Linked DNA regions of Homo sapiens: region 2 is linked to region 1. The links are contacts of gene promoters, found by promoter capture Hi-C in blood cells and fetal thymus (Javierre and others, 2016). All regions are on one chromosome and are shown on one strand. Each heading gives the region's core, a stretch centred on a gene start or on the middle of the fragment in contact. The rest is flanking DNA. Distances are from core to core; before and after follow the strand shown.

Region 1 (6,281 bases), core at 968-3,467:
GCTTCCAAACCAAAATGCATTTAAAACCAATCACCTTGATTTTTCTGGCATTTTTTAAAAACTTCACTATTTACTTTGTAAAGGTATTATAAAACAAACACAAAATCTAATAGAATTTTTTTTCTGAGCAGGAAAATGAACTTACTAACAGAATACATCGGTACTAATTTGGAGGCAACAGAGCTCTTTACTCCATTCATCTCTCCATACCCGGCTCCTCCGTTTCACACCCTTTGGTTTGGTTTAAGCGGATGCCTGTGGACTGTGCCGCTTCCTCCGAGGACGGCCTCCACCCGGGAAAGAGCCGTGATAGAAGGGCTTTATTTTTAAAGGTGTTGGTACATGTTCAAAGCTTAACCCTCTAACTACAGATAAAACTGCAATCGTTTTGACTAGAATTTGGGGTGGAAGAGATATTCAAAGAAATCAGCAAGATGAGGAGGGAGGCAGAGGTGGGGGAATCACACCATTGTGGCCCCACAGAGAAGAGGGGGCGATTTCCAGTCAGGATCCATCAGGGGAGCGAAAGGTGCCACAAAGATAGTAATTAACAGTCTACTAATGTGAGAAGAAGGCAGAACTACACAATGCTTCCTCTCAGAAGGCACCGTTTCTACCTTGTTCTTCACGCCCTCCGCGAAGTCAGCACAGGCCTGCCAAGCGGCCCTTGGGGGCTTAAGGAGGGCTCCCCCCACCCATCCTTTTGGTCTTGATCTTCCCCCTCCCCCACCACCGACCAAAATTCTACTTGTACTAAAGTAGTAACTAAAGAGAATCATACTGTTGGGCGTACTATGGCCATCTATGTTTAGTTATCTTACTATTGAAATGGTCAATGAGAGTTCCAACCAGGAACACAATATCCTAACAGAATTAAGGGGAAAACAATGCTGGAACTTCTGCCACCTTCAGCCCCATTTAAAAGAGCCCCGAGCTTGCTTCTTGCTCGTGACTGAACCAGCACCAGGCACTGACTTTGGGCTCCAAGTCCTCTGTTTTCATGCAGGACAAGTAAGTGGCTTAAATTTCAGAATTAAGGAAATTATATTGATGTAAAAAGAAAAACTTTGTTAAAGTGTAAAAGACATTAATAATACCTGACGTTCCTGGAATATGCACAGCAATGACTTCTTTTAGGACATTTTAGCAATGAAAGCAGCATTAACCGTGATAAAACCCGTTACTTTCCAAGGACCCGCTCCGCAAAGCGCCCACCCTCGAGGGAGGAAAGCCGAGCTGCGCCTCCGCGCAAGGCCAGGGAGTGTGGCTCGAGCCCCGCTGCAGACCGGGCGTCGCCGGTTAATCAATGACACTGTCGGGTCAGCAGCGCAGCCTCCCAGCTGCGGAGGGGCCGCGGATCGATCCAGACCTGCCTCGGCTGCGACGCGCACGAAAACCGCGCGCACCGCAAACCCGCTTCAGTCTCCAAGAGGAAAGCAAGAAACAAGGCTCGGGTTTTTTTCTTTCTTTTTTCTTTCCTTTTTTTTTAAGGTTCACAGAGGGAATAATTCAGAACTCCATGTGCGAAGGCACTTAATCAACAAACTTATGAGCAGTTAGTTCCTCCAGTGCCCTTGGGAAAAAGCAACTATTTCCAAAAGGAAACTTTATTTAACCGACGCCACGTCCCCCCGACACTAAAACTAACCAGTAAGTACAGGGAGGGACCGAGAGGCATCTGCGGCCAACGCCAACCCCGATCTCCCCGTGAAACGCGCAGCCCGCGCAGGCGCCCGCAGCTCCCAGCTCCCGGGACGGCCCCGAACGAGCTCATCGTTGACGCGTCCAGGAAGAAACGATCCCGTTTCCAGCAAACCCCGGACGGTGGGGCGCGGGGAAGGGCGCAGGCAGCCTCCCAACCCGAGTCCCGCAACCCGGCGGGACCGGAGCTCAGCGCTTCACGCTCTCCGGGAGGAAGCTCCGGACCCCGGGCGACCCCGCTCCCTCTCCCGGACCCCGCCCGCGCTCCAGCACCCGGGAGGAAGGCGAAGACCGGCGGGAGGAGCGCTCTTCTCGGAAGGGGAGAACCGGGTCCGAGGCGCCGTGGGGCGGGGGTCGCGGGCGCACTCACGGGGGCGAGCAGCCAGCAGGTCAGCAGCGCGGGAGGCAGCAGCGTCCGCATCCCGAGCTCAGCGTGCCGGGGGCCGCCCAGCGCCCGCCGCCTCCGTCCTAGGTCCCCGCGGTTCCGCCGCCTCCAGCATGGGCCGGGAGCGAGTGCGCGGAGACCTCGGGCCCCGCAGCTGTAGCCGAGCGCCCGAGCGCGGGGGCCGCCCCCTCCGTCCCGGCAGCTGGAGCGCGCTCAATGCACGCCCGTCCCCCACGCGCCCCGCCGCTCCGCCCCCCGCCCCTGTCCCCGCCCCGCGCTGCCCCAATCCTCGTCTCCCTCCTCCCCCGAGAACCCCCGCTCCGCGCCCCTCCTCACCGCCCCCCACTTCCCCTTCCGCTGCGCCCCGCGCCCTCTCCTCGCCCCTGGGCTCTCTGTCCCCGCCGCGCGCGCTCCCTCTGGTCTCCTCGACCCCCCCAGCCTCTCTCTCCGTTCTCCTCCCCTCTTCCCTGGCCCACGCCCCCCTCCCGGCCGCGCCTCCCCGATCTGTGGGCGGAGGGGCTGGGAAGCGGGGTGCTCAGTGCGCGCCCGGCTCCGAGTAGAGAGAACTGGGGGAGAGCGGCCGGCGCGGGGCCGGGAGAGGAGGACCGGGCCAGGTGTGCGCTCGGAAGGGGCGGATGCCTTTGCGGCCGCCTGTACCTGCCTTTCTAAACAACTGCGGAAGCCCAAGAAAGCGGCCAGAGACCCGTCCGGGGTGGGCGCGCCGTCTTTGTAGCCAGTGGGGCTAGGTTGGGGCATCTGAAAATGGAGAAAATCAGAGTGCTTTTTGGTGGGGATCCCCGCAGCCTCAAAGAGGACATCAGGTCGAACAGAAAGCTGGAGAAAAACGCAGACGGGGGTATAGGTGGGTCCCAGCCTCAGCTGGGTGGCGGGTTTTGTGTCCTGCGTTTGCAAAACGGGGGTCATTCTCTCCCCGCAAACGCGGCGGCGGGTGGGGAACGCTGGGCGGGGACTCACGCGGTGCCACTGGGGCCGCCCCGCCGCGCCCCACGCGGGACTGCGCGGCCTCCCAAGGCGCCCGCGTGACCAACCCAGGAGAGCTCGGCGTTCCCCAGCAAGTGGAAAGCACTGGAATGAGAGATACAAGTTAAGTTCGTGTTGTTTTAATTTTTTATTTGGAAATAATTTCAAACTTACACAAAAATTAGAAGAATAAGAATATTACAAATAACTCCTTTTTATCCTTTTTGTGGATTCGGTCATTAACATTTACCTCATTGGGCTTATCATTTGCTTCTCTCTGATCCCCCACCCCCCGTATTCACAGATATCGATTTTTCTATCATCTGATGTTTATCATCCACATTATCTATCATCTACCTATCCATCATCTACGTATCATCTATCGATCTGTCATGTACCTATCATCTATCATCTTCCTATCGATCATCTATCTGTAATCTGTCATCTATTATCTGTCATCTATCATCTACCTGTCCATCATCTACCTTTCATCTATCCATCTGTCAGGTATCTATCATCATGCGCCTATCATCTATCATCCACCTTTCCTCTATCACCTACCTGTCATCTATTATCTATGATCTATCCATCTATTATGTACCTATCATCTATCATTTGCCTATCTTTCATCTGTAATTTACCTATCTATAACCTGTCATCTACCTATTTATCATCTATCATCTGCTGTCATTTATGATCTATCCATCTATCATGTACCTATCATCTCTGTATCATGTATCAATCAGCTATCATCTACCTATCATCTCTCTGCGATCTATTACCTATCTATTACCTACCATCTACCTATTTATCATCTATCATCTACCTCTCTGTCATTTATCTATGATCTGTCATGTACCTATCATCTATTATCTTCCTATCGATCGTCTATCTGTAATCTATCATCTATTATCTGTCATCTATCATCTGCCTATCCATCATCTGTGATCCGGCATATCTGTGATCTACCTGGCTGTCATCTATCAATCACCTATCATCTGCCTATCTGTCATCTGGCTGGCATCTATCAATCACCTATCATCTGCCTATCTGTCATCTGCCTGTCATCTATCAATCTATCATCTGCCTATCTGTCATCTGCCTGTCATCTATCAGTCTATCATCTGCCTATCTGTCATCTGCCTGTCATCTATCATCTGCCTATTTATCATCTATCTGTGATCTATCATATCTGTGATCTGCCTGTCATCTATCAGTCATCTATCATCTGCCTATTTGTCATCTATCTGTGATCTATCATATCTGTGATCTGCCTGTCATCTATCAGTCATCTATCATCTGCCTATCTGTCATCTGCCTGTCATCTATCATCTGCCTATTTGTCATCTATCTGTGATCTATCATATCTGTGATCTGCCTGTCATCTATCAGTCATCTATCATCTGCCTATCTGTCATCTGCCTGTCATCTATCATCTGCCTATTTGTCATCTATCTGTGATCTATCATATCTGTGATCTGCCTGTCATCCATCATCTGCCTGTCATCTATCGATCATCTATCATCTGCCTATCTGTCATCTGCCTGTCATCTATCCTCTACCTGTTATCTATCTGGCTTCATCCATGTGTATCTAGTGGGAGACGAGGAGAGGGAGACCTGGGCCTTAGGCGGGCTGCTTGGCTTGTGAAGAAAGCTCGTGGCGCTGGGTGCCTTCGACAAACGCATCTTTTTCTCCCGGTTCCACCTGGGTGAGCGATGAACTTTGAGCTCTATGCATTTGTAGGAATGACAGCACCTGCCCTTCCACCGCAGAGGGGCTCTGTAATAATCAAGGTGATTAATGCACACGTCAATACCTTGTTGAGGGCCTGCATTTTAGAAGTGACTGTCCAGGGTGCAGTGAGGGGTTGCATGATGGGTGAGTCTTCCCCTGCAGCAGTGCGTCCCGATGGACGGGGTAGACCAGGAGAAATGGCTGTGGTCGTAGCTAGATGGCACACTTCTCTGAAGGTCCAGTGTGTGTGTAATCACGGGCTTTGCTGAACACCCCAAACCCTGCGGTTACCTGATGCTCTTAGAAAAATGACCAAAGTTCTCAATATGCCTTTGTAAACAAAAGATAAAATTCTAAGCCCCCCAACCAACTTAATGGACTCCCCTCTTGGCCAAAGGGATCCCAAAGAAACCTGAAAAACGAGTTCAGGCCATGACAGGGAGAGGGGGTTGGGCAGGCCTCACTACACCCTCCTTTCCTGGAGTTCATGACCAACATTAACATAAAAACAGAGCTCCTAAGGCTGACCAAACAGACTGTTCATAGCAATAAGATAGCAAATTCCCACCAGACTCTAGTAGAGCATCACATGACGGCCAGCAGGCCCTGAAGAAATATATTTCTTTGACAGATTTTGAAATGGCCCAGCAAAGCTGTCTGTTGGGGAATCTTGCACTCTGTGGAGAATCCCTGTCCGTCACTAGGTCTTTCTGGAGAGTCTGACACCTTTCAAGGCCCTGATAGTAGACATTCACATTCACTCTCTCTGAAGCCTGCTAGCCGGAGGCTTCATCCACAAGAACCTTGGCTTCCACAACCCCCTTTATTTTCACTCAAGCTGATATCAAGTCTTCAGGCAGATCTTAACTCTGTTTTACCCAACGGCCAATCAGGAAATCCTGTAATCCACCTGTGACCTGGAAGGCCCCACACCCCGCTTCAAGATGTCCCACCTTTCTGGGCCAAATCAATGTATACCTTCCAGATATTGCTTTATGTCTTTTCTTGTAACTTCAGTCTCCCTAAAATGTATAAAACCAAGCTATACCCTGTCACCTTGGGTGTGTGTTCTTGGGACCTCCTGAGGCTGTGCCCTGGGCCATGTCCTTAACCTTGGCAAAAATCAACCTCTAAGTTGATTGAGACCTGCCTCAAATACATTTTGGTTTACACCTTTGAACAGGCAACCACCTGCCATGCTGGGCCTGGCCTGGCTTTGCCCATTGCCCCAGCGTAACCGTTACTCGTGTCCCCCTATTCTTGGAAATGTCCTGGTTTGGACATATTATGTGAAGCACATGGTCACCCTACATGCGAGGCCACACCTGATCTGGGCCTGAGTCTCCTCCTGGACCCGTCTCGCAGCCTCCACTCTGCCTCTCATGCCTCAGCCTTGCTGATCTCTGGAAGCCCCAGGCACGCTCCGCCCCAGGCACCCTCCACCCCAGGCACATGCCTCCCAGCTTCCACCTGTCTT
Region 2 (6,281 bases), core at 1,857-4,356, 180 kb after region 1:
TATGGCATAATTTAACTCAGACTTTAAGGAAAGAGATAGGTCCTAGAACTGATCAGGTTTTGTTTCTCTCCTGTAAACAGGAGAGTCCAGCGCAAGGAAGTACCCTCTGCTCTAACCCTTACCAAAAAAAATAACCTGATGTCCTTGTACCTACCTTACAAAACCCTCTGTTCTGCTATTATTCAGTGGATTTCAAGACCAAATCAGTACATTTACATTGATGATAGTGACGTCAATTACTAATGTTTTGGGCAATCTCTCAAAATCAAGGGGATGATCAAAAGGGGGAATTTGTTAAATTAAGCTTAGCCTAAAGCTGCCTCCTTATATATTTTAAGTTCACCCTTAAGGTTTCTATACACAGTAAACTGAAACCTAACTGGATATATAAACAGACTAGCCTATTTTTGTGCCAATCACCAAGTTTTGGCCAATTAAAGTGGGCCAACTGTTCAAATTGTGTTCAAATAAGGCAAACTCTAAGCTGTAATCAATCTGGCTGTTGCTGTACTTCACTTCTGTTTTCTGTCTGTCACCTTCCATTTTCTGCCCATAAATCTTCTTCTACCACATGGCTGTGCTGGAGTCTCTCTGAGCCTGCTGTGGTTTGGGAGGCTGCCTGATTCATGAATCATTCTTTGCTTAATTAAATTTTGTTAAATTAAATTTGTCTAAGGTTTTTCTTTTAACAAGTGCATACTCAGAAAGACATGAGAAAGCCTCAACTCTCATCTTGGGCTGACCTTAATATGTTGAGCAAACAGCAAGGGAAGGCTAAGGCAGAATTGTTCATTACCTACTAATGTTTGAAGTGTGCCCCATCACTCATACAGACCCCCTCAGCAAATAGTGAAAGACTTATTGGTTCCAAGCACTTAAGGAAATCACTATCCATTCATTATCTGACCTTTAAGCTAGCCAAGTAGAGACTTCAGTCCTCATATATGAAAGAGAATACAGACTTGGCAGAATTATTTCTTTAAAGTCAGTAAACAAACAATAAAAGCTACCAAAAAATGCCCCAGCAACAATAACAAACCCTGGGGAAGTTGCAAAATCTGATTCCTGGGGTTTTCACACTATAATATTTAAAATGTCAATTTTTAAGAAAAAATTGCAAGACGCAAAAAGAAACAAGAAAGTACAGCCCATATGCAGGAGGAAAAAGCAATCAATGGAAAGTGTCCCTGTGGAAGCTCACATGATGAACTTACTCATGAAAGACTTTAAACCAGATATTCCCAATCTACTCAAAGAAATTTTAAAAAATTCTTAAAGAACTGAAGGAAAGCATGAGAATAATGTCATACCAAATAGAAAATATAACACAATTGAAATTATTAAGAAACAGAAATTCTGGAGTGGAAAAGTACAATAACTAACTTGAGAAGTACAAGAGAAGTATAAACATCTTGCCTAAAACCTTTCCTCAAGCTTTGTCGCTTTGCCTCAAGCTCCACCAATCATTGTATTCTTCTTGAAGCAAAGCAACAATAGGTTGGAAGGGTTTTAGGCAGGATGTTTATCAGGCAGGAGCTCATTTATTGTGACATATTCCCTCTTTAAAAATGTAAATATTCTTGGGAAAGTTTAGCTTCTCATAATCCATCCAATCTTCTTGTGCATTAGTTCCATGTGACTAACAGACTGACTACCCTTAGAATGCAGGGTCTTGGTTGAGTGGCAGCTGTGGAGGAGAGTCAAGGGAAGGTTCACAGCCACTCTTGGCATTTACTCAGCATGGATACATGAGCTGCACTAAGGATTCTTCGTTTTGACATTTTAGCCAGAGCTGACTCTGCCCCACGCATCACACAAAGAAAATAGAAGGCACATAAAGAAGATTCTGAAGGCATTAATAAATGGAGCTCTAAGGTGTGAAATAGACACAGAGCAGCACCACTACTGCAAGCCAATGGAGACCAATGGAGAAGGAACACGTTTGACAAAGAGTACAAAAATAGATCCTGAGAGCTCAAATTTAACTCTATCAGCATTAAGTCAACACAACTAGAACAAACATTCATATTAGGTCCTGTTTCTCAAACATAAAACAAACATTTAAATTTCTCAGTTGGATTTGCCATGTATAGCCAGGAAAAGCAGGCCTGGTTCTGAGATCCAGGATGTAGCCAAAAGGTGACAAGAAATCATCTCAGGGAGTGGACTTTCTTTCCATCCCCGGTTCTTAGAGTTCCTAGGCATTGTAGATCAAGATAGCAAAATAAACTCAGTAAAATGTTCTCATGGAAAAAAGCCAAAGGCTAGCTCTGATAAGAGCCTGTTTAAGCACAAGAGGCAAATACCTGTGATCTAATTTGACTTCTCTGTAGAAAATCTCTTGCTAAAAGACACTAACATGTGGATGTTAAATGTTTGGCCCAATTCTGCCATTTGTTAGCTGTATGACCTATGCAGTCTACTTAACATTGTTGGGCATCTTTTTTTCTATCTGTACAAACAGGAATAATAATATCTGCCTCATAAGCTTCTCATGATAATTTCCTGATATATTACATAAGAAGCACTTAGTATAGGGCCTGACATGTAATTATACTCCGGGATTTGTATCTGTTGTTACTGTATTAACAATGATGCCTCTATCAGTTCTGCCTGAGTGCCTCAATATGCAACTCAGGAGAGCTATTTCTTTGGGGCTTAGACATTTGTCCCAGGAATTTTTCTTTCAAAACGTAAAAAAGTTTAGGAGGTGGTCATATATTAAGAGTTTCCATTAGTAATGCCTTTGTATTTGTTAATAGCCAGAAACTTGATCTCCAATTATTTAGCAAAAGACTGAGCTCTTGGAAAATGAAATGTGAGGTCAATATGCTTTTACTTGGTGGGGGGGTTAATTTTTTGCATCTGAAGCCATGTGGGAGACATGCCCTGATTGTGATCCCTTGAACAGTTAGGGGCCAGGTGGGAGTTTGGGATGTGGGAAGAGGACAGGGGTAAAAGTGGAGCCCCCAACACAGGAAGGAGGGGAGCACAGTGCAGCAGTGAGTCACTCTAGCCCCAGCACTGACTAGCATGTCCTAGCATGACTCCAGCACGCTGTCATTTGGAATAAATCTTGGATAGGATAAAACCTGAGTTTAATGAAATTATGGATTCTCAGAATTTTTAATCCGGAGGGTGCAAGAAATTACACAAACCAAGTGGTCAGGACCGTGAACAATAGCCACACTCAGAGAGCTGATCAGGGTCGGCAGAGAAACAGCCCGACATGACTGCTTGTGGTCTGTGACTCAACTGTATCATCTGGATTGACTTTCTAAATGTGAAGTTTCAGCCAGTCCCTAAAATCCACAGACAGACTAAAGTTCCAGCAGGTGACCCACACTGAACTCTGTGGTAACCAGTTTTAAACTGACAAACCAAAGACCTATTTGAACAAACCACTTTCCCTCATCATACCTCATGGGTTTGCTTTCAGGAGTGTGAGACCATGGTGGAGAGGTTGTCCTCACTGGGACCTGTCTCAGCATATACCTGTATACAGGTAAATCCCCAATGCTCTTAACTGAATGTCTCTGCATTATCTTGGAGGTTCTGCAGAAACCTCATTACCCATAGTCTAACTCTTCTGTACTGGGTTATGACTTCCCCACCTTCACTTGCAGTGAGCTTGGGCTAGCACTACTATGTTTCACAGGCTCTCTGCACTGAGATATCAATTTCTACACCTGCCATCATGTTAGAGATGTGCATAATGGAATTTAAAAGCTTTGTATTACCACTATTTAAAAACATATCTGGCTGGGCCTGGTGGCTCATGCCTGTAATCCCAGCACTGTGGCAGACCAAGGCAGGCAGATCACGTGAGGTCAGGAGTTCGAGACCAGCCTGACCAATATGGTGAAACCCTGTCTCTACTAAAAATACAAAAATTAGCCGGGCTTGGTGGTGGGTACCTGTAATCCCATCTACCTGGGAGGCTGAGGCGGGAGAATCGCTTGACCCTGGGAGGCAGAGGTTGCAGTGAGCTGAGATCATGCCACTGCACTCCAGCCTGGGTGACAGAGTGAGACTCCATCTCAAAAAAAAAAAAAGAAAAAAAATATATGTATATGTCAGAACACAGATATTCCTGAGAAGCAGCTACCTCCCATGACTCACTCTGTTTGGCATTGCTAATTATTCAGCTGACTCTTGCAAGAATGAGTTGTTGAGCTGAGGGCCAAGACCTTGAGAATAGAGCAGGGAAGAGGCTGGGAGAGCTGTGCAGCAGGGATGGAAGCCTGTTTGAGCAGAGCTGTTTCGCAGCATCTCCACCCATGGTTTTTGTTTTTCTCCATTTGAAAGGTCTTTTAAAGCACAGGTCTATGGACACACAAGGGAGGAATCTAATTTGATGGCATCACATGCACCACGCAAAAATCCATAGACCTTCTATGTCATTCCTTCAAACACTTCAGTCTGTCTCAATAGTTATGGTTCAAACAGGTAAAACAGAATTTGAGTTGCTTGGGCATTTCTTGCCTCCTTACTACATAAGATCAAGTGGGGAAGGTGAAAACCAGAACAAGTCACCCTGGGAGGCCCAAATGGGAAGTGTCAGTCATGCATTTGTGTATATTCAGTGTGAAGTGTAACCACCTGTCAGTCCACGTGACTGAAAATGTAGCTATGGGGGTTGCAAGGCTGGGTCAAATGGCCTGTGCTTTGACAGATTTGCACTGGGTTTCATTATTTACCATTATTAAAATAGACAATTATGGTGTTGGCTGTAAACAATAATCTATGACTGGCCATCACCTTAATGAAGATCAGAAAAGCATATCAACAAAAGTATAATACAACCAACAAACAACTAAGATGAATTTATAACTACAGTGAAGACATAATTACAAATTTTGAAATAGAGATGACTAAAACTGGAGTTTACTATGGTCTTTTTCCCAATAAATTATGTGGGTTTTTTTTCAGTCAAAGCTAATGGACATCAGGAATTGTGGGATATTCAGTGGCTGCACGTCAGGGAACCTGGGTCCCAGGTCCAGTTTTATCACTGACAAACTCTGTGAATTTGGCAAAGTTATCTGTGAAATAGTTGAACTGGATAGTCAACTATTAGTCATTAGTTCACTATCTTTTCACAACCAAAATAAAATGGGTTAACATAATTCTAAACAATTATATTTAAAATGAAAGATAAAAAGGAAAACAACAGGATTGTGGTTTTCAAACTCTTCCCTGAGAAACCATCAGGGCTCAGAGGAGTGAGGTAGCAGGACTCTAGGGTCCCAGCCCTTTTATATTTTCTTAAGTCTTATACATTGGGCTTCTCAATAATAGTTTGTCTAAAAACTCTAAGAATTTAAACTGAAAACAGCTGCGTTGGGTATTGCTGACAAATATGTCTTTTGTGTCCTATCTTTGCCTCCACTCTGTGCTTTCTTCACCTTAAAAAATATGAGTGCCACAGAACAAAAAAAAATTCAGGAAACAGGCAAATCTACATTTTCTGATTATTCCATAAACTTTACAAAAAATTCCAGAAAGTAAAAGGTCTACCCTGTCATAAGTGTGCTGCTGTAAGGGGCCTGTTTTCCTCCTATAAGTTGTGACAAGCTGGGAACCAGGCTGTGGAAGATCTCAGGCCCTGGCCAGTCTGTCCAGGTGCTGCTGCTCTCAGTCTCCTGGATGGTGGCGAGCATCACCAAATGAACAGAGCCCGTCCAGGTGCTTCTGTTGTCCGTCTCCAGGATAGTGGTGAGTATCATCAAACAAACAGAACTGTGTTCAGGTCCTGTGAAGGAACTCCCCAAATCTCCATAATTCAGCAGGAGACAAAATAAGGGTAATCACCCCACCACCTGGATCCACTTAGATTAAGTAAATTTACTGAAGCTCCAGGGGGAGGTCTTCAAGACTCGGATCTTGGTTATAGATTTAAAGTAGTTAATCACTTATGTCTTTAGATGAATGCATATTTACACATAGCCATATAGCTTAGAATATATATAAGCTCTGGAAGACTTTGTAATTTTGAGTTGGTCTGGAGATATTTTCCAGGCCTTCTCCATGTAACTGGTTACAGAAATAAAAACTCACTTCCTCCGCAGTTCATCTGCATCTTATTATTGGGCAACCAGAAATAGCGGTCCGATCCCCAGTTTGGTCCAGGAATAGCACCAGATGGAGGAGCAGCACCAGTGAGACTCACAAGGGCGTGGAGACTTGGGATGGGGGCTGAAATGGGCTCATACTCATTCTTGAAGCCATGGACTCCTTCCAGGTCAATGGCCTCCCCAGTTGCAGGAGAATGGCTTTTC

Evidence for each region. Contacts are between HindIII fragments. The CHiCAGO score rates a contact against its expected background, and 5 or more counts as called.
Region 2: a fragment that was not itself captured here is called in contact with the fragment with the promoter of VIPR2 in region 1 in 1 of 17 cell types (total CD8 T cells); the score reaches 5.0 in total CD8 T cells.

What each region holds. Positions count from the first base shown.
Region 1 is chr7:159,142,650-159,148,930 of GRCh38, forward strand. It overlaps VIPR2 (vasoactive intestinal peptide receptor 2), which reads right to left and starts at 2,218. Exons shown (of 13, transcript NM_003382.5): 1 at 2,072-2,218. The coding sequence starts at 2,122. RefSeq lists an enhancer at 4,016-5,215. The HindIII fragment of the contact is 10,716 bases long and covers 351-6,281 here.
Region 2 is chr7:159,316,916-159,323,196 of GRCh38, forward strand. No RefSeq gene overlaps it. Among named protein-coding and RNA genes, the nearest start is that of VIPR2, 180 kb to the left of the region's middle. The HindIII fragment of the contact is 1,241 bases long and covers 2,487-3,727 here.